Regions from separate parts of the Homo sapiens genome. Here all the other regions are linked to region 5. The links are contacts of gene promoters, found by promoter capture Hi-C in blood cells and fetal thymus (Javierre and others, 2016). All regions are on one chromosome and are shown on one strand. Each heading gives the region's core, a stretch centred on a gene start or on the middle of the fragment in contact. The rest is flanking DNA. Distances are from core to core; before and after follow the strand shown.

Region 1 (3,303 bases), core at 279-2,778, 540 kb before region 5:
GCCACACATGGTGGCTCACACCTGTAATCCCAGCACTTTGGGAGGCTGAGGCGAGAGGATCACTTGCATCTAGGAGTTCAATACCAGCCAAGGCAACATACTGAGACCCTGTCTCTACAAAAAATAGAAAATTAGCCAGGCGTAGTGGTGCACACCTGTAGTCAGTCCCAACTACTTGGGAGGCTGAAGTGGGAGGATCACTTGAGTCCAGGAGGTCAAGGCTGCAGTGAGCCAGGATTGCACCACTGCACTCAGCCTGGGTGACCCAGGAAGACCTTGTCTAAAAAAAAAAAAAAAAAAAAAGGAAGGAAAGGAAAGAAAAGAAAGGGAAGTAAGGATGGAAGGAAGGAAAGAAAAAGAAAGAGAGAGAGAGAGAGAAAGGAAAAGAAAAGAAATAGTCTGTGTCTTACATGATTCCTTTGCACTGCCAGGAATTCTTGCTCCCATTTTGTAAGCAGAGAATATACTGAGGCTCAGAGAGGTCAGAGAGGTGACCCGACATGGCCAGGGTTATACTGTGGATTAGACCCCAGGTTGGACATGTGACCCTAGGCTCTGACTTGGGCTTTTTGCCATACTCCATCCACAGGCAACCCAAGCAATTATTTCAGCTCAGTGAGATACGGAATCCCACCAGTGATTCCCAGTATGAGTTCCTTGGCTGCATGTTCAAGGGTAGTCTCAGCCTTCTTTGTGATAAGGCCACAGCTGTCTGATGATTAGCCCAGGGTTGGGCTTTGGGAGGCCTGGGCATAGGCTTGATTTCGCTAACCTGCTGTGTGACCATGGGTGAATTACTTTCCCTCTCTGAGCCTCAGTTCCCACAGGGCCAGCGAATGACCAGCTGTTATTGTCTGGGTCTCTGATCCTCCCAGTAGTGCTGTGGCAAAGGAACTACTTTGAATTTCATATTAAAAATGAAGAACCCGGACAGGCGCGATGGCTCACGCCTGTAATCCCAGCACTTTGGGAGGCTGAGGCAGGTGGATCACTTGAGGTCAGGAGTTCAAGACCAGCCTAGCCAACATGGTGAGACCACGTCCATACAAAAAACACAAAAATTAGCCAGGCATGGTGGTACGTGCCTGTAATCCCAGCTACTCAGGAGGCTGGGGCAAGAGAATTGCTTGAATCTGGGAGGCGGAGTTTGCAGTGAGCTGAAATCACGCCACTGTACTCCAGCCTGGGCAACATGCGAGACACTGTCTCAAAAAAAAAAAAAAAAAAAGATAAGGAACCAGCGGTCTGAGACCGACAAAGTGGCATGCACAAGGCTACACAATTAGCAAGTGGGGCCCAGGATTTGGGAACAACCCGTTGCTGGCAGAGCTTCCCATCAGTCCACCATGCTGTGCTGCCTCTTGGAGTAAGAAAGCCAAACTGAATTGTCTCCAAGATCTTTATTATGGGTCTGTGATTCTGTGAGTTCCCTGCTGCCCCAGGCCTTCAGGGCTCAATGACTTCATGGGGAAGCCATTTCAGGTTGTGCTGGTCCTCCAACTGTCCCCATTTCAAGTAGGTAACATCCCCGTAGGCAGCACTCCCTCCCTCCCTCAGACACAACCTCATTCCTCCTGAATGAAGAGGTCTAGTGAGGACAGGGACATGCCCTTTTTATTCTCCCCCCACTGCACCGCCCACTCACCCTGACATGCCCATTTTATGGAAAAGAAAACTGAAACTCAGGTCCAACAACTTGCCCAGGTTTCCCCAGTTACTATGGAAGAGCTAGGATTTGAGGCTGGGTCTGGTAACTCCAGATCTTGTACTCTAAGTAACTGCAAGCTGGCCAGATTCAGCAGGACAGCCCTCCTCCTCCTCTGAGCTCCCTCCCGGCTTCTGCAATCCTGCCTGCCTTCCCCCTTGCTCCCTCCCTCTTCTTGCCTTTCACTCAGCTGTCACTTAATGTTAGCTGTCAGCTGATTTCAGGTGTTCCCCTTCCTGGGGTGGAAGGGGAGAGGACCAAAGATCTTGGCCATTCACAAAGGGGGCTCTGGTGATGGGAGTTTTGTAATACGCAGAAGGTGTAACCAAATTCAATTCAGCATTCATGGAGCAGCGCCTGGATCCAGGACACTCAGCCAGGCATCCCAGGGACTCAGATGGTGAATGAAACACAGGCCCCATTCTCCAGTGCTTACAGTCTATTACAAAGGAAATGGCTGCTTCCTAAGGAAGTGGGAAGCAGAAGGTATAAGTAACAAAGAGTGTGAACCTTATAGTCAGAAAGACCTGGGTTCAAATCCTAATTCTTCATCTAATAGCAGCATGACTTTGGGTAAGAGGATGCCTTCCTGAGCTTTAATTTTTCCATCTGTTTAATGGGTGTAAGAAGAATAGCTCCCATATTAAATGAGATCTTATACTGCATTAAATGACATAACAAAGTGCTTGATGCCCAGTAGCAAGCCACAGACATTCCTACCAATGTCACTCTAGGCAGACAGTGGATACCAGAGTCACAGTGGGAGTAGGTGGAAGGCGAGAGTACTTCTTGTTGGAGAAACTGGGAAGGCTCTTTAGGGGAGGTAAGATTTCGGCTGGGTATTAAAGGAATGTAAGAAGAAGAGAATGGGGTGGAGGGATGGGAAAGGACATTCTGGAAACTCATGGGCAGAATCTGGGAACCTGGTGGGCCTAATGTGTCCAGGGAGTGGGTGATGACCTTGAGAAGATGGGCCACGGGCAGGTTATGAAGGGCCAGGTAGAGGAAGTTATATCTTTAACGAGGGAATGGATCCTACCCACGACCCCAGGGGCAGCTCAGTGCTGTCTCTGCAGAAGCCAGCCAGCCTCCTACAGGAGTTGGCCTTCTCATGTGGCTGTGGTCCTCTCAGATCCCTTTATCTCCTGAGTCAGGGCCAGCCTGCCACCATTATCTACAAGAAGACAGAAGGCTATAACAATCTGCTTGCCTCCTACTAACATACTGGGGAGGAAAAGATGTTTTTTAGCATAGTTGCCTGGCAGAGAACCATGGTGAAAATTCAGTGACCCTCTCCCTTGCTTCTCAGGGTACAGTTTCAGCAGCAGCTGATGACAGTTATGCTCATAGCTCAACAGCTACAAGAATGTTCTCAGACTCTCTGAAGGTCAGGGGCAGTGGTGGGAAGAATGGTGAAGATGGAGCAGAGCCCCTGCTCTCTGTGCTGTGGCTGGGCAAGACACTTAACCTCCCTGGGACTCAGTTTCCTCATCTGTAAAATCAAAACAATAATACTGACCTTGCCTTAACCAAGAGACAGCGTAGTAGCAAACTGCTGGCCCACAGCCTGCTATGAAGTAGGAGTTCATTACCTTCTT
Region 2 (3,228 bases), core at 62-2,561, 560 kb after region 5:
AAAGGTGGAAGGCCTCAGGCATCTGCAAAGGACTGCCCCCAAAGATCATTCAAAAGTGACCTTGGCTGCCCTCCCATAAACAAGGACGTGCCAAATGTAACTTTAGGTCTACGATCTAAATCAAGGTCTTTATTTTTATTTGAGACACGGTCTTGCCCTGTCACCCAGGCTGGAGTGCAGTAGCACGATCACAGCTGACTGCAGACTCATACTCCTGGAGTCAAGTGATCCTCCCACATCAGCATCCTGAGTAGCTAGAACTATAGGCACGTACCACAAGGCCCAGATAATTTTTCATTTTTTATTGTGGAGACAGGGGTCTTGATATGTTGCCTAAGCTGGTCTCAAACTCCTGGCCTCAAGTGATCCTCCTGCCTTCTGTCTACCAAAGTGTTGGGATTACAGGCATGAGCCACAGCACCAGCCTAAGTCTAGCTCTGATTCTACATTATAATAAGCTAATAACGTTGACTATAAGCTTATCTTCCCAGGTCCAGGACAAAGTCAAGACTCATTCTCCAACCACCCAGAGACATCCATAACTGACTCTTCCTTTACTCCTTTTTTCTCTTCATCATTCACCTTATCTTATGTAAAATGGAGATTTACCGGGCACTAAGGAAAGTCTCACAAGAGTATAAGCATTTGCCTTACCGCCTACCTGCCCCTCTTCCTACATGCCTTCCTCCTCTTTAAGAAAATGTATAAAGACTAAATTTCCTGAAAACCTCCTCGGAAAAGCAGCCTCAGATGTGTCTGTGGCTTATGTTTTTCCCAGACGTGCCCTGAAGCTGCCTTCATAAACCTCGATGATTGAGACTTATGCTTCAGTCACTCATTTCAGTTGTCATAGGGGACCAGAATACGCTATCCCAAAATATACCACTTTGGCATAAGGATTATTTTGAGCTGAAGGCAGTTGAGAAGAAGCAGATATAAGAAAAGCTCTCTGCCCTCCCTGTGTTTGCCTAAAAGCAGGACAGAAATTTGCAAAGCTGATCCCCTAAACCTCCAGCAGAAAGGACAGAAATTAATCACTGATAACTTTAAACCCTCATCAGCCCAAGGCACCAGAGGCATCTATATAACGAACTTTACTGGCTTCTATCAGCTTCCCCATATATTTACTTTCCACAATTTGCTGCCCTGGAAATTCAAAATCCTTTTCTTTGTCTTGTCCCTTGTCTAAAAAAATTTTTTTAAATGCTGTAAAGCCCAAGTTCTTTTTTTTTTTTTTTTTTTTTTTTTTTTTTGAGACAGAGTTGCGCTCTTGTTGCCCAGGCTGGAGGGCAATGCCGCGATCTCGGCCCACCACAACCTCCGCCTCCCAGGTTCAATTGATTCTCCTGCCTCAGCCTCCTGAGTAGCTGGGATTACAAGTATGCACCACCACACCAGGCTAATTTTGTATTTTTAGTAGAGACGGGGTTTCTCCATGTCGGTCAGGCTGGTCTTGAACTCCTGACCTCAGGTGATCCGCCCACCTCGGCCTCCCAAAGTGCTGGGATTATAGGCGTGAGCCATCATGCCCGGCCAAGCCCAAGTTCCAATCACCCCTTTGAGTTACTGAACTCCCAGCGCTTCCAAGTGTATGCACAGCTGCACTTAATAAATTAAGTATATGCACCTCATAAACTTCTGTTTGTTTTTCTCTTGTTAATCTTTCATTAGTTTATTTACAGGGCCGCAGCCAATGCACCTAAGACAAATAGCAGAAAAAGTGGGTTTTTTCCTCCCATGTATGGCAATCCTTTGTTATTATCTCTGCTTCACATATGGAGAAAACTAAGGCTCAGAAAGGTGGCGTCACTTGCCCGCTTGCTGCCCAGATTTTTTGGGCCCAGATGTTCTGGCTCCAAAGTCTGAGCTCCTTTCTCCCCATACAACCTACCACTGGGCTTCTTTCCTCATTTGAAATTGAGGGGCTCAGTCCTGAAGAACTCAGGTGCCTATCTTGATTCTCACTTTCAAGAGCAAGAACCAGACCCAGAAAAGTATTTTATTTCTCTGCTTTCCTTTATCCTGATTTCTAATAGTGTTTGTCAAACTATATTAATCATAGTCTGTTGCATTCTTGTACATGCCAGGCACTTGGCTAGGCAGTTTCCCTGCACTCTCTCTAGTGTTTCCAGCAATCCAATGAAGAAGCTTCTGTTATCCTGATTTTACGCTGAAGCATCCGAGACTCAGAAAGGTTCGGTAATTTGCCTAAGGTAACCCAGTGAAGAAGCCACTGGTGGGACTGCAGAGTCTAGAACTAACAGGCTTTTAACTACCACTCCTGCCTGCTTGCCTGTGTCTTCTCCCCACATTCCCACAGTGTCTGAGCTCCTCCAGAGGGAAAGGAAGGTGTTACCTGCACCTCCAGCTCTAGCAAGAGGCTGAGAAAATGCTAGATGGATTAATACTGAATTAACAAATAAGTAGATGAAAGGCAGGAAAGAAAAGGAGAAGAAAGAGAAAAAGAAAGGTAAAAATTAGGATGGAAGAAAGTAAAGAAGAAAAATGCAGTGAATGAATAAAATAAGAATGCATGAAGTTAAAAAAAAAAAGGAATAAAAACAAAAGATCGAGAAAATGAAACCAGAAAAAAGAACTAGATTAAAAGAATACCCAGGCAATCCGGTGCCCTGCTGGCTCTCTTTCTCATCAGGGGCTGCTGCCTCCCAGGCTCCCCACCAAAAGCTGCTTCCTGAGCCCTGGGAAGTGGCTGGGATTTTGCCAAACAGCAGTAATGCCCCCTTAGGCCAGGCACCAGGATCCCTAAGGTTGATGGCACGCCATAGGCAGAGGGAAGCAGAGCCTTCACATCCTGGCATCAGATTCCACCAAAAGATCCCTAGCTGCTGTCACTTGCAGGCAAGGAAGGGATTTTTCACAGCCAGGATGGGGATTACTGCTGCGGCGCTGCCTCCTCCAGCTCTGCAGAAAACAGTCATTCCTGCTGCACTGTCTGGTTGAGCTGCTGAAGAAAAGCCGACTTGCCTTCCAGCCCACCCACGCTCTCTTAACCTCCACTGTGAGCTCCGATTGAGCAATTCTCACATCCTTTCCCCCAGGGTCCAGACCTGCTTAGGGACACAATCCTTCTCAGAATGGCAGAAAAGCAAGCTCTGGGGGCCTTCAAGAAAGCCTCTAGGGCCACAGAACTGGGCATGACATCAGGACCCAAGACTGCCCCATCCCCAGTGTGCTGCTGCACCCTACTTTATTAAAGAGGCAGACAGG
Region 3 (3,716 bases), core at 1,013-3,512, 510 kb before region 5:
CACTTGCTTAACCCCAATGTGTCTCTCGAGCCTCAGCATCACTGGCTGACTGTTCTTGAGTGAGGTGGTTTCCAGCTCCTCACGATTTTTATCACCTCCAGAGTGGCACCTAGGAATGAACGTTTGTTAGGTGAGTTGGTTCAGTTACACAGAACCCTTAAACGCCTTTTTCTATTTGTTTGTTTTTTTGAGATGGAGTCTCGCTGTGTCATCCAGGCTGGAGTGCAGTGGCATGATCTCGGCTCACTGCAGCTTCCACCTCCCAGGTTCCAGCCATTCTCATGCCTCAGCCTCCTGAGTAGGTGGGATTACAGACGCCACCACCACACCAGGCTAATTTTTGTATTTTTAGTAGAGATGAGGTTTTGAGTGTTGGCCAGGCTGCTCTCAAACTCCTGACTTCATGTGATCCACCCACCTTGGCCTCCCAAAGAGCTGGGATTACAAGCGTGAGCCACCGTGCCCAGCCTTAAACACCTTCTTGACTAAAGTTTGGCATTAGACTGATGGAAATGGCCATGACACAATCTCTGTCCTTGAATTTATATTGTGGAGCACATAACTTGTAAGCATGTAAGTTTAACCTGTTTCTTATTCTGAAGTAGAGTATGAGCCCCGCCCCCCATGCCGGGGCCGATGAATACGGCTCAGGAAGCCTGTTTCAAGTTGACCTAATTTTAAGATAAAGTGGTTATTGAGTTTCACTTCAGTTAGTAGGTCAGGTATTTGAAAGTCAACAAGCTTTATATGGCTAATACTTGCTTTTGATAAGCACGTAGACAAAATGTTGCTGGGCCATGGTGGCGTGCGCCTGTAGTCCCAGCTGCTTGGGAGGATGGAGCCCGGGAGGTCGAGGCTGCGGTGAGCCGTGATTGCTCCACTGTACCCCAGCCTGGGAGATAGGAAGACCTTTTTTTCTCTCTCTCTCTGTCTCTGATAGCAAGACCTCTCTCTCTCTCTCTTTTCTCTCTCTGTCTCTCTCTCTCTCACACACACACACAAAGGGCTCTTACATTTTCTTTTTTTGTTTGAGATGGGAGTCTCACTCTTGTCACCCAGGCTGGAGTGCAATGGCACGATCTCAGCTCACTGCAACCTTTGCCTCCCAGGTTCAAGTGATTCTCCTGCCTCAGCCTCCTGAGTAGCTGGGATTACAGGCACCCACTGTCGTGCCCGGCTAATTTTGGTATTTTTGTGGAGATGGGGTTTCACCATGTTGGCCAGGCTGGTCTTGAACTCCTGACCTCAAGTGATCCTCCCACCTCAGCCTCTCAAAGTGCTGGGATTACAGGCATGAGCCACTGTGCCCGGTCGCTTTTACATTTGAAATGTCCTTTGCAGTTGCTAAAGCATTCACATTTACGTTTTACAGCTGTCTTCTGAAAGGTTTTGTCCCACTTTACAGATGAGGAAGCTAAAGTGCAAAGGTTGTGGATCTCTGGAATTTATACAGCTGGTAAGCTAGAGGACAGCTTCCACCCAAGATTTATTCAGAATTTTAACGGCCCTCTGGGGGGCCTGGGGAACCTTGGCAAGCCATGCCACCTTTGAGGTTCAGGTCCCTCATTTTTTAAGTGTAGGATTTGGGTTATGTTTTAATCTAAGTTCATGGTGTGTAAGGCACCTTCTTTGGGAATGAGGTATGGGGAAGTATGGACATACGTGATTAATGTTAGCCACATAGGTCGCGTGCAGTGGCTCATGCCTGTAATCCCAGTACTTTGGGAGGCTGAGGTGGGTGGATCACTTGAGGTTAGGAGTTCGAGACCAGTCTGACCAATATGGTGAAACCCCGCCTCTACTAAAAATACAAAAATTAGCTGGGTGTGGTGGCTGGTGCCTGTAATCCCAGCTACGATGGAGGCTGAGGCAGGAGAATCACTTGAACCCAGGAGGCGGAGGTTGCAGGGAGCCGAGATTGTCCCACTGCACTCCAGCCTGGGCAACAGAGTGAGACTCGGTTTCAAAAAAAAGAAAGAAAAGGAGGTTAGCCACATAAATAATAGATGAGGCTCTTTGAAAGGACCTAAGAGGGTGCTGTAAATTACATGTGATGTAAGCCTGGAAGTCTTCACTGCTGCATATTTTTTCCCCAATTCTACTTAAAACGTTTTAAAACTTGTCAAGATAACTTTCTCAAATCGTTAAGAAGGGGTCATCTCAATGTTACAGCATGAGAAATTAAAGTCCAGAGAAATGAAATAGCTTTCTAGGTCATGGCAAAATTGGTGCATCTGGAGTAGCATTCAGATCCCGAATCCTTGTCCCTGGTTCTCTTAACTGCCATGCTCTTTGGGTTGAGACTAGAAAGAAAATGGATACAACACATTTCACCCTTAGGAGACTTTCAGTGTTTTTAATGTTTTCACTTAGAATGGAAGAAATTATACTTGAAAAGGGATGTTTAAATTTATTGATGTTGGCTGGGCGCGGTGGCTCACGCCTGTAATCCTAGCAGTTTGGGAGGCCGAGGTGGGCGGATCACCTGAGGTCAGGAGTTCGAGACCAGCCTGACCAACATGGAGAAACCCCATCTCTAGTAAAAATGCAAAATTAGCCGGGCATGGAGGCGCATGCCTGTAATTCCAGCTACTCAGCAGGCTGAGGCAGGAGAATCGCTTGAACCTGCGAGGCAGAGGTTGCGGTGAGCCGAGATCGCGCTATTGCACTCCAACCTGGGCAACAAGAGCAAAAACTCCGTCCCCGCCCCCCCCCCCCCCCCAGAAAAAATTATTGTTGCTATTGCTTCAGATTTCCAGTAGCTCCTCAAACCCTGCTCAAAAGTCCATTTCTTTGAGTTGGGGGAAGGGGTAGGATTCTTGATAATGAAGCTATTGTTGGGTAAATTCTTGGCCGTCCTTAAATCCTTCGGGATCAGGGAGCTAGGATTCCTCTTGGCTCTGTAAGATTAAATAGGCTGTGCGTGGGCCATCAGGCCCTCCATACCTTCCTCCCATACACCCTTAGAATCTGCCATCCAGAGACTGAGAGGGTCCTCATCTTAGCAGATGTGACTATCAGGCAAGCACAAACACTATGATTCAGAGCTGGGTGTGACTTAACAGGTCTTCTTTCATTATAAAACCCAATCATTAGACTGGCTAATAAAAATTACCATCTCAAATACTTACTGTGTCTTGGGTACTTTGAATGCATGGTCTCTGAATCTTTACAGCAGCCTTAGCAGTGAGGAATGTTAATATTTTTAACACATGAGGAAACCAGGTATTCGGTGATGTAACGTGCATAGCTAGTAAGAGGCAAGGTTGAGATTGAAATGGGCTGTCTTACTTTAAGGTTCTTTCCACTACGCCATGGATATTTTGATCCCCAACTAGAGAAAAGGAGTCCTAGAAATGTTATAACAAGCCTGGCAAGGTGGTTTACACCTGTAATCCCAGTACTTTAGGAGGCCGAGGTGGGAGGAGGATTGCTTGAGTCCGGGAGTTTGAGACCAGCCCGAGCAACACAGTAAAACCCCATCTGTACTAAAAGTACAAAAATTTAGCCAGCTGTGTTGTTGCATGCCTGTAGTCCCACCTATTTGAGAGGCTGAGGTGGGAGGATTGCTTGGTCCTGGGAGGTTGAGGCTGCAGTGAGCCCTGATTACACCACTGCACTCCAGCCTGGGTGACAGCCTGTCTCAAGCAAACAAACAAACCTGAAGGAATCTATTGTCAAATTCATTTCCCAAAGTTCTACTCCCATGCCATTCT
Region 4 (3,384 bases), core at 310-2,809, 540 kb after region 5:
TTAGAGACAAGAGGGATATCTGGTCTACCTGGCCACTGTGTAGAAATAGACCTAGAGGATGTGTCTATGAAAGGAGCCAGACAGGTTAGAAGGCCGTTGTAGTCATTTTGGTCCACAGATGTGAAAGTGGGGAGCTGGATTATGTAATTTTCAAGGTCTTTTCCTCTTGAATCATTAGGACAGGACACAGGATATCGCTCCAATGCCAAACTTAATCTGATGGCAAGACAAGGTGCGGATGAGAGGGATTCTGGTGAAAGCCTAGGAAAAGACAGGAAGGCAGGGAAGACGGGCTGGGATAGAACCCAGTAGGCCCCGTGGGTACCCAGCCCCATGCTGCCCTAGCACTAACCACTAGAGGGCAGGAGTGACCAGACCAGACAGAAAAAGAGACTTTATAAGGCAAGTTTGCAAGCTTACTTCTTGGAGGCTGTGGCATGAAGAAAAACTTCACTGGGAAAGGTTAAATAAAGGATGAAAGACTTTCCATACTTGATGGTGAAGCCAGAACCAGAAGTAAGGTGAAAATCATAAGGATACGTTTTGCATCAAAGCAGGAGGAATGAGAGCTGCCCCACAGCGGCAACAGCTACTTTGAGAAGAGATGAGCCACTGATCAGCCTGGACAGGAGAGTGGACATGTCTGCTTGGGTGACTCATTGACACCCCAAACTTCTTTCCTTGCTCACCCTCAGATGAGTTTATGCACCTGGGTTCCCCACTTCCGGAACCCTGTGACCCATCCACTCACTGAGACCTGAACCTAAGTCTCACACTTTGCTCCTCCTTAACCCTGGTGAGTTTCAGCCACTCAATCTCCAAGTCCTGTCAACTCTGTCTCCACTAACATCTTCAGCATCATCCCCTCCTCTCCATCATTCCTACCATAGACTTGGTTCACGTGCTGCTAAAGCTCTCTCCCCTTGCCTATTACAACAGGCTCCTAATCAGCTCCCTCCCTCTAAGCTCAGTCATTCAGTCAACTTTCCACAGAGCAGAGAGAGCTTTCCAAACTACAACCCTAACCAGAGGAAGCCCCCTCGTGACTTTCCACATATCCCTAGGATAAAGGACACACTGTAACCCAGAAATACCTTAATCATTGCCATCTTCTTCAAGGTTTTCCTTGCTACTTTGGCCATGCAGGATGAAACTCTTCTAATGAGTCATGCTCTTCCAAAAGTCCATATCCTTTGTATATACTTTTCCCTCTGCCCGGAATACTGCATCTTATTCCCCTTTTCCTTCACTGCCTGGATACCTAGAGAGGCCATGAAACCTGTAACTGGGAGCACAGGTTTCAAAGGCAGACAGACTCTGGTTCCAATCCCAGCTCTGCCACTTACTCATGTAATATCTATGAGAGTTGGGGTGGCTTATTCAACCTCCGTGCCTCAGTTTCCTCATCTGTAAAACAGGAATAAAAAATAACGGCTACTTTACAAATTGATATGAACACTGAATGAGATAACTGATGTGACACAGTGCAAGGCCTGACATGTCAGGCACTACATGTACTAGCTCCTGCTGTTATTTATTTATTACAGTTGATTTTCTTGTTGTTGTTTGTTTTTGGTTTTGCTTTTGTTTTTGAGACTGGGTCTAGGCTGGAGTGCAGTGGCGCGATCTTGGCTCACTGCATCCTCCCGCCTCAGCCCCACAAGTAGCTGGGACTACAGGCACGTGCCACCACCCCCAGCTAATGTTTGTATTTTTTGTAGAGGAGGGGTTTCACCATGTTTCTCAGGCTGGTCTTCAACTCCTGAGTTCAAGTGCTTGGATTGTAGGCATGAGCCACCACGCCCAGCCCCATTGCTTATTCTTAGCAATCCACATGAAGCTACTGGGAAGATCAAATGAAAGAATGCACAGACGTGCTTTTGAAATAATGAATGATTATACAAATAATAGTAATGAAACATCGTTTTTAGTAGTGGTATCTTTACAATATCATCAGGATGCAGAATTGTTATTCCTGACTTCAACCATCCCTGAGAGTCATTAATGCTTAGAGACTCTGAACACAGAGGCCCCACAGTCACATAGAGGCCCCAAAGCATTTAACCAAACACCTTCAGATTTAATTCCTCCAGAGGAGAAGTATTCAGTTGAATAGTTAACCATGGAAACGTGTTTGTTCACATAGACCCAATCCTAGGAAAATGGAGAAAGTGGTGAGGTTTATTTCTGGATCCTGTACCTCTTTCAAAACCCATCTTCCTCACTTCTTCTTCTTCTCAATACCTCACCCCTAAGATCAGATCTCTTGGCAGGACCTTGTCATTGGAGCCTCTAATTCAGAGAAGCCTCAGGACATAGGAGATGGGGTATTTAAGAATAAGAGAGGGTGTCTGAAGAGGAGGACAGGCCAGATGCCCAGCCCAGAGTACCAGCACCTCAATACAATCACGCTATTAAAATGATTCTTCCAATGGTATAAGGTATAAGGCCTGAAAGCAATCTTTTTGCTCAGTCTTTAAGATTCACTGAGGTGACTCTATTGATGATACTTTGGGCACCATGACAAGCAAAAGGGGAGAAATTTCTTTTGCAAGATTGGGTCATACAAAAGGCCAACCTATACCACTTTGAAAACAAATCCTATATAAAAGGGACTCTTCAAGTGCAAGCCCCCTCCCAAACCCAGGCTAAGGACTACAATGGCCTCAGCACTCTGGTGCTGGACACAGGTAGACAGAGGCAGTAAGCTTGAAGGTTAAGTTCATGGATCCTGGGACCAGGTTGCTTGGGTTCCAATCCCAATTTTGCTATCTACCACCTACAAAGCCTCGAGAAAATTACTTAGCCTCTCTGTGCCTCAGTTTTCTTATCTGCAAAATGGGTATAATAGTACCTACCTCATAGAGTTCCTGCAACTTAACATATGCCAAGTATCTAAAACAGTGCTTGGCACATGGTAAACAATCTGTGTCAGCTGCTATTATTATTCCGATTTTTTTTTAGACAATGTGTTTCCCATTGCCAGAAAGTCTGACAGTGTGGTTAGTTTGGAAGGCAACACGGCAGGTGCAGTATTTACATGAGAATGAGCTTTGGCATGGATCTGACTTTGAGCCCCACCTCTGCCTCTTGCAGCTCAGTGACATCTAAGTCACGGGTTCTTCATCTGCAAAGTGGGGATACCAATACCCTGCCCTTCCTACTTCACAGGTCTTTGAGCAGACCAAAATCAAGTGCACTAAAGTGCTTTTCCAAATGTTTATTTTTTAAGTTAACATAGAATAAAATAGACTTTGGGGGTGTATAGTTCTATGAGTTTTAGCACATTCAGGGAACCACCACTACCAAGATATGGAAGAGTTCCATCACCCCCCATACAATTGCTTTTTAATCTTGATGACGTAGTGTTTCACAGCCTAACAC
Region 5 (3,726 bases), core at 302-2,801:
GCTATTTCTTTACAACATCAAAAAACAAACATTTCTAACAATCCCATTCCTCAGGTCTGTATTTATGTCTATCATAAAGCAGAGACTTTTTACACTCTACTGAAAGAGCTGATTCACTCAACTGTAAACTTTGCATGGGCAGAAACATGTCTTTTTGGTCTCTTGAGTCTCCAGCATGTGGGGTATCTGTCACAAAGTAGGCAATCAATACATATTTATTTGCAGAATCAAGGGCAGGATGTGGACAAGTGCTGCCACCTATTGGGAGAAACTTTATTTGACTCTAAGGATTTGGACTATGGTTATCACACAAGGACGAAACTTGATACTCTCTCTCATCTAAGTTATCATTAGTTAGACCCTCTATGGTAGCCAGCCTCCAGGATGGCCCGCAGCGATCCCTGTCTGTTGGCATTCATACCTTTGGCTGGATCCTCTCACACATAGGGTTGGTTTGTAAATATGACAAAAGCCGTATGTGACCTCTGGAGCTAGGTCATAAAAGACATTGTGGCTTATACCTTGGTCTCTCTGGGATCACCTGCTCTGAAGGAAGCCAGCTGCCATGTCATGGGGACACTCAAACAGCCCTATGGGGAGGTTCACGTGGTGAAAACAGGTCTCTGGCCAACAGTCATGACTGTGCCATCCTGGAGGCCGATCCTCCAGCCCTAGTCAATAACTGCTGCCCTGGCCTACAGTTTGTAATCTCATGGGAGACCTGGAGACAGAACCACCCAGCCACGCATCCCCAAATCCCTTTACCTCTAAAACCTGTGGGACAACAAATGTTTATTGCGTTAAACTTTGGGGTGATTGTTATGCAGCCACAGAGTTCTAATAAACTGTCGGACATAGATTACTGGCTACAAATAGTTCTACTTTTTTTTTGAGACAGGGTCTCGTTCTGTGGAACCAGGCTGAGGTGCAGTGGTGCGATCACAGCTCATTGAGGCCTCGACCTCCGGGCTCAATCGACCCTCCCGCCTCAGCCACCCAACTAGCTGGGACTACAGGCAGGCGCCACCACACCTAATTTTTTGTATTTTTTGTAGAGATGGGGGGGGGGGTTTCACCATGTTGCCCAGGCTGGTCTCGAACTCCTGGGCTCAAACGATCCACCCGCCTCGGCCTCCCAAAGTGCTGGGATTACAGGCGTGAGCCACCGCGCCCGGCCAACCTAAGGATTAACCTAAGGCTTCTCAGAGCAGATGCCGCTGGAACTGAGGGCCACGGAAGAAAGGGGGTGACACTTGGTCCTGGGGAGTGGCGACTGTATTGTCTGTCTGCAGCATCCCTATCAGCGCTACCGTTGTTCCACGCACACAGGGAGTAAGTACTGGGAGTCCCAGCCACCGCCGCGGAAAATCTGGGATGCCAGCGAGCGGCCGCATCTCGGCGCCTGCGCACTGTGCCCGCGCTCTCAGGCAGCGCCGTTGCGCGCGGAGTCATCGATCGGCCGACCCCGAGAGGCCCGGTTCCTTTAGGCCGCCTGCCCGCCTCCAGCTCTCGGGGTCGGCTCCAGGAGGCGCCCTCAGGAGAGGGGCGGGCGCTCTATTCCAGAGACCGAGTGGCAGGGCGGCCACTGTGGCGGGGCTCTTTCCCCGTTTCGCCTCAGCTACCCCTCAGCTCCGGTAGTCGCCAGTCCGGGGTCGTCGCCGTTTGGGGCGGGAGCTGCTCGGCCCCGCCGCCGTCCCCGTCGCCGCTTCCGGGTCCAGGCCCCTCGGGCCGCCTGCCGCCGTCATGAGGCTGCGGGTGCGGCTTCTGAAGCGGACCTGGCCGCTGGAGGTGCCCGAGACGGAGCCGACGCTGGGGCATTTGCGCTCGCACCTGAGGCAGTCCCTGCTGTGCACCTGGGGGTACAGGTACGCTGGGGCCGGGGCTGGGCGGCCCGCGGGGAGTGGGGAGTGCTTGGGGTGGGTGCAGGGCGGGTTGGCGTCATCTGTGGGCTGCAGGCGCGGGCGTGGCCGGGCGATAGGCCAAGTGCGGGGACGCCGGGGGGGCCTTCACGGGAGGCCCGGGCTCTTCCGGGCGTCGCGGAGCCGGAGGGTGCAGGCGACGGGAAGCGCGGGTGGTCGGCTGGGGTCCGGCTCCTGGAGAACATGGCCCGGCCTCCCGGGGGCTCTGGTCCCCTCCTCGGTGAGTCATGGCTTCTGGTTTTGCAGTAAACGGAACCAGGGAGAGGAGGGAACGCACAATTTCCACAACTGGTTAGATTTCAAGTTGGAAATGATGAGCTTGGCTTGGGTTAAACCTTTCTGGACTGTGAGGGGTCCGAGTTAATTTCTTCAGCTGTTGGAGTATTTCAATGAAAAAGTTTGGAAATTGCTAGAAGTTAAAAATCTGCCCTCAATCCGAGGCCACCGGTAGCTTGTATCGCTGCTGTGAAGCGGCAACAATTTTAGATTCTGTTGTGTTCATGCGCCGAGCACCGCGGTGAGCGCTTGGACTTCGCCGCCGAAAAGTTTTAGAAAGGACAGCGTGTAGGCGTGTTTCAGACCATTTCATTTTCTTGGGTGAAATGTTGCTTTTTTGCTAAAACTGAGGCAAACGTTGATCTTGAGAGCTTGCAGTTTGGGGGCAGTAAAGTTGAGAAAGGATCATATTCTGTTATTGGTTTGTGGGACTGCAGGTGAAGCTGCTTTGTTTCCCTAAAAGATACTTTTTGGGGACAATAATTTGGGAGTAAAGCGGCAAGGTAAGAGTGGTCCTCTTCAAATACTGAGCTAGTGAATTTGAAACTTGAGTGTGCTAAGGAAAAATGAAAAAGATGTTCCCTGGGGATTTTTAGGTGAATTCTTCAAAACAAAAGCAAACCTTCCTACGTTTTCACCTTATTTTTAGGGAATTGGGTAAAATGAGGCCGTTATTCTGAACTTCTCGCCCTTTCATTTTCCTGGTTAAGACATTATTAGATTGAAAGTAAGCCTGTTTTCTTCCTGATTAAAAAAAAAACCCTAAATAAGATACTGACATAACTCCTTTTAAACATTATAGTAAGTGACATGCCTACTGTTATTTCTTGTTGTTAAACCTGTGTGTTTTACATACTGGCATCGTTACCAGTAGGTTACGAGTAGAAGATTGAATAAATCTTCAAACTTATTTTTTAAAGGTATTACCAAGTATATATATATTTTATTATTTTTAAATTAGGCAGTCTTGAAAGGACGTGAAACTCAATATGACTGCCCAAAAGGGCACGTTGGTTTCTCTTTCAGATTTCTTTTTACAGTTGAGGCTGGTTACCTGGACAGAATTTAAGCTTCAGCTTGTGAAAGTAAACTCATTTTTTCTGAAAGTATACTCATTTTCTAATAAAGGTGCAGTTTTAAAATATGTCCATGTGATATTATTTTAAAAATATCTTTACTGAGCAAGTGGAGCTAGGATTGTCATGAAATGCTTTTATTTGTTTTGTTTTTGTTTTTTAAGAGAAAAGTGAAAGCAAGTTTATTAAGAAAGTAAAGGAATAAAAGAATGGCTACTCCATAGGCAGAGCTGCCATGAAATACTTCTAAGAAGGCTGGAGTTTCTAGAATTTCATTTCCTGGAATTAAATACTCCTCTTAACGCCCCAATTTCAGAGGTAGAATCCTGGAAAACTATATATTACTTTAGAAATAGCTTTTCCCTTTTTCTAAAGTGGGAGGAAGAGCTGGTATATTTATTAAGCGGACCATGACCTTTTCTGCAAACAGATACTTGAACGTACCTTGTACTAGA

The links. The method cuts DNA at HindIII sites, captures the fragments that hold promoters and counts their contacts. A CHiCAGO score of 5 or more calls a contact.
Region 1: a contact is called between a fragment that was not itself captured here and the fragment with the promoter of FBXO7 in region 5, in 1 of 17 cell types (naive CD8 T cells). The highest score is 6.3, in naive CD8 T cells.
Region 2: a fragment that was not itself captured here is called in contact with the fragment with the promoter of FBXO7 in region 5 in 1 of 17 cell types (megakaryocytes); the score reaches 5.3 in megakaryocytes.
Region 3: a fragment that was not itself captured here is called in contact with the fragment with the promoter of FBXO7 in region 5 in 12 of 17 cell types (naive CD4 T cells, naive CD8 T cells, total CD8 T cells and 9 more); the score reaches 10.9 in naive CD4 T cells.
Region 4: a fragment that was not itself captured here is called in contact with the fragment with the promoter of FBXO7 in region 5 in 1 of 17 cell types (megakaryocytes); the score reaches 7.4 in megakaryocytes.

Annotation. Positions count from the first base shown.
Region 1 is chr22:31,934,692-31,937,994 of GRCh38, forward strand. YWHAH-AS1 (YWHAH antisense RNA 1) reads right to left here. Exons shown (of 3, transcript NR_171018.1): 2 at 3,225-3,303. Among named protein-coding and RNA genes, the nearest start is that of YWHAH, 8.2 kb to the right of the region's middle. The HindIII fragment of the contact is 4,105 bases long and covers 1-3,303 here.
Region 2 is chr22:33,035,456-33,038,683 of GRCh38, forward strand. All of the region lies in intron 1 of SYN3 (synapsin III), which reads right to left. Among named protein-coding and RNA genes, the nearest start is that of SYN3, 21 kb to the right of the region's middle. The HindIII fragment of the contact is 1,670 bases long and covers 477-2,146 here.
Region 3 is chr22:31,958,101-31,961,816 of GRCh38, forward strand. No RefSeq gene overlaps it. Among named protein-coding and RNA genes, the nearest start is that of LINC02558, 11 kb to the right of the region's middle. The HindIII fragment of the contact is 3,046 bases long and covers 740-3,716 here.
Region 4 is chr22:33,018,084-33,021,467 of GRCh38, forward strand. All of the region lies in intron 1 of SYN3 (synapsin III), which reads right to left. Among named protein-coding and RNA genes, the nearest start is that of SYN3, 39 kb to the right of the region's middle. The HindIII fragment of the contact is 2,293 bases long and covers 414-2,706 here.
Region 5 is chr22:32,473,260-32,476,985 of GRCh38, forward strand. It overlaps FBXO7 (F-box protein 7), which reads left to right and starts at 1,552. Exons shown (of 9, transcript NM_012179.4): 1 at 1,552-1,865. The coding sequence starts at 1,744. RefSeq lists enhancers at 527-586, 1,312-1,812, 1,475-1,644, 1,813-2,313, 1,899-2,068 and silencers at 1,633-1,822, 1,833-2,142. The HindIII fragment of the contact is 4,456 bases long and covers 1-3,263 here.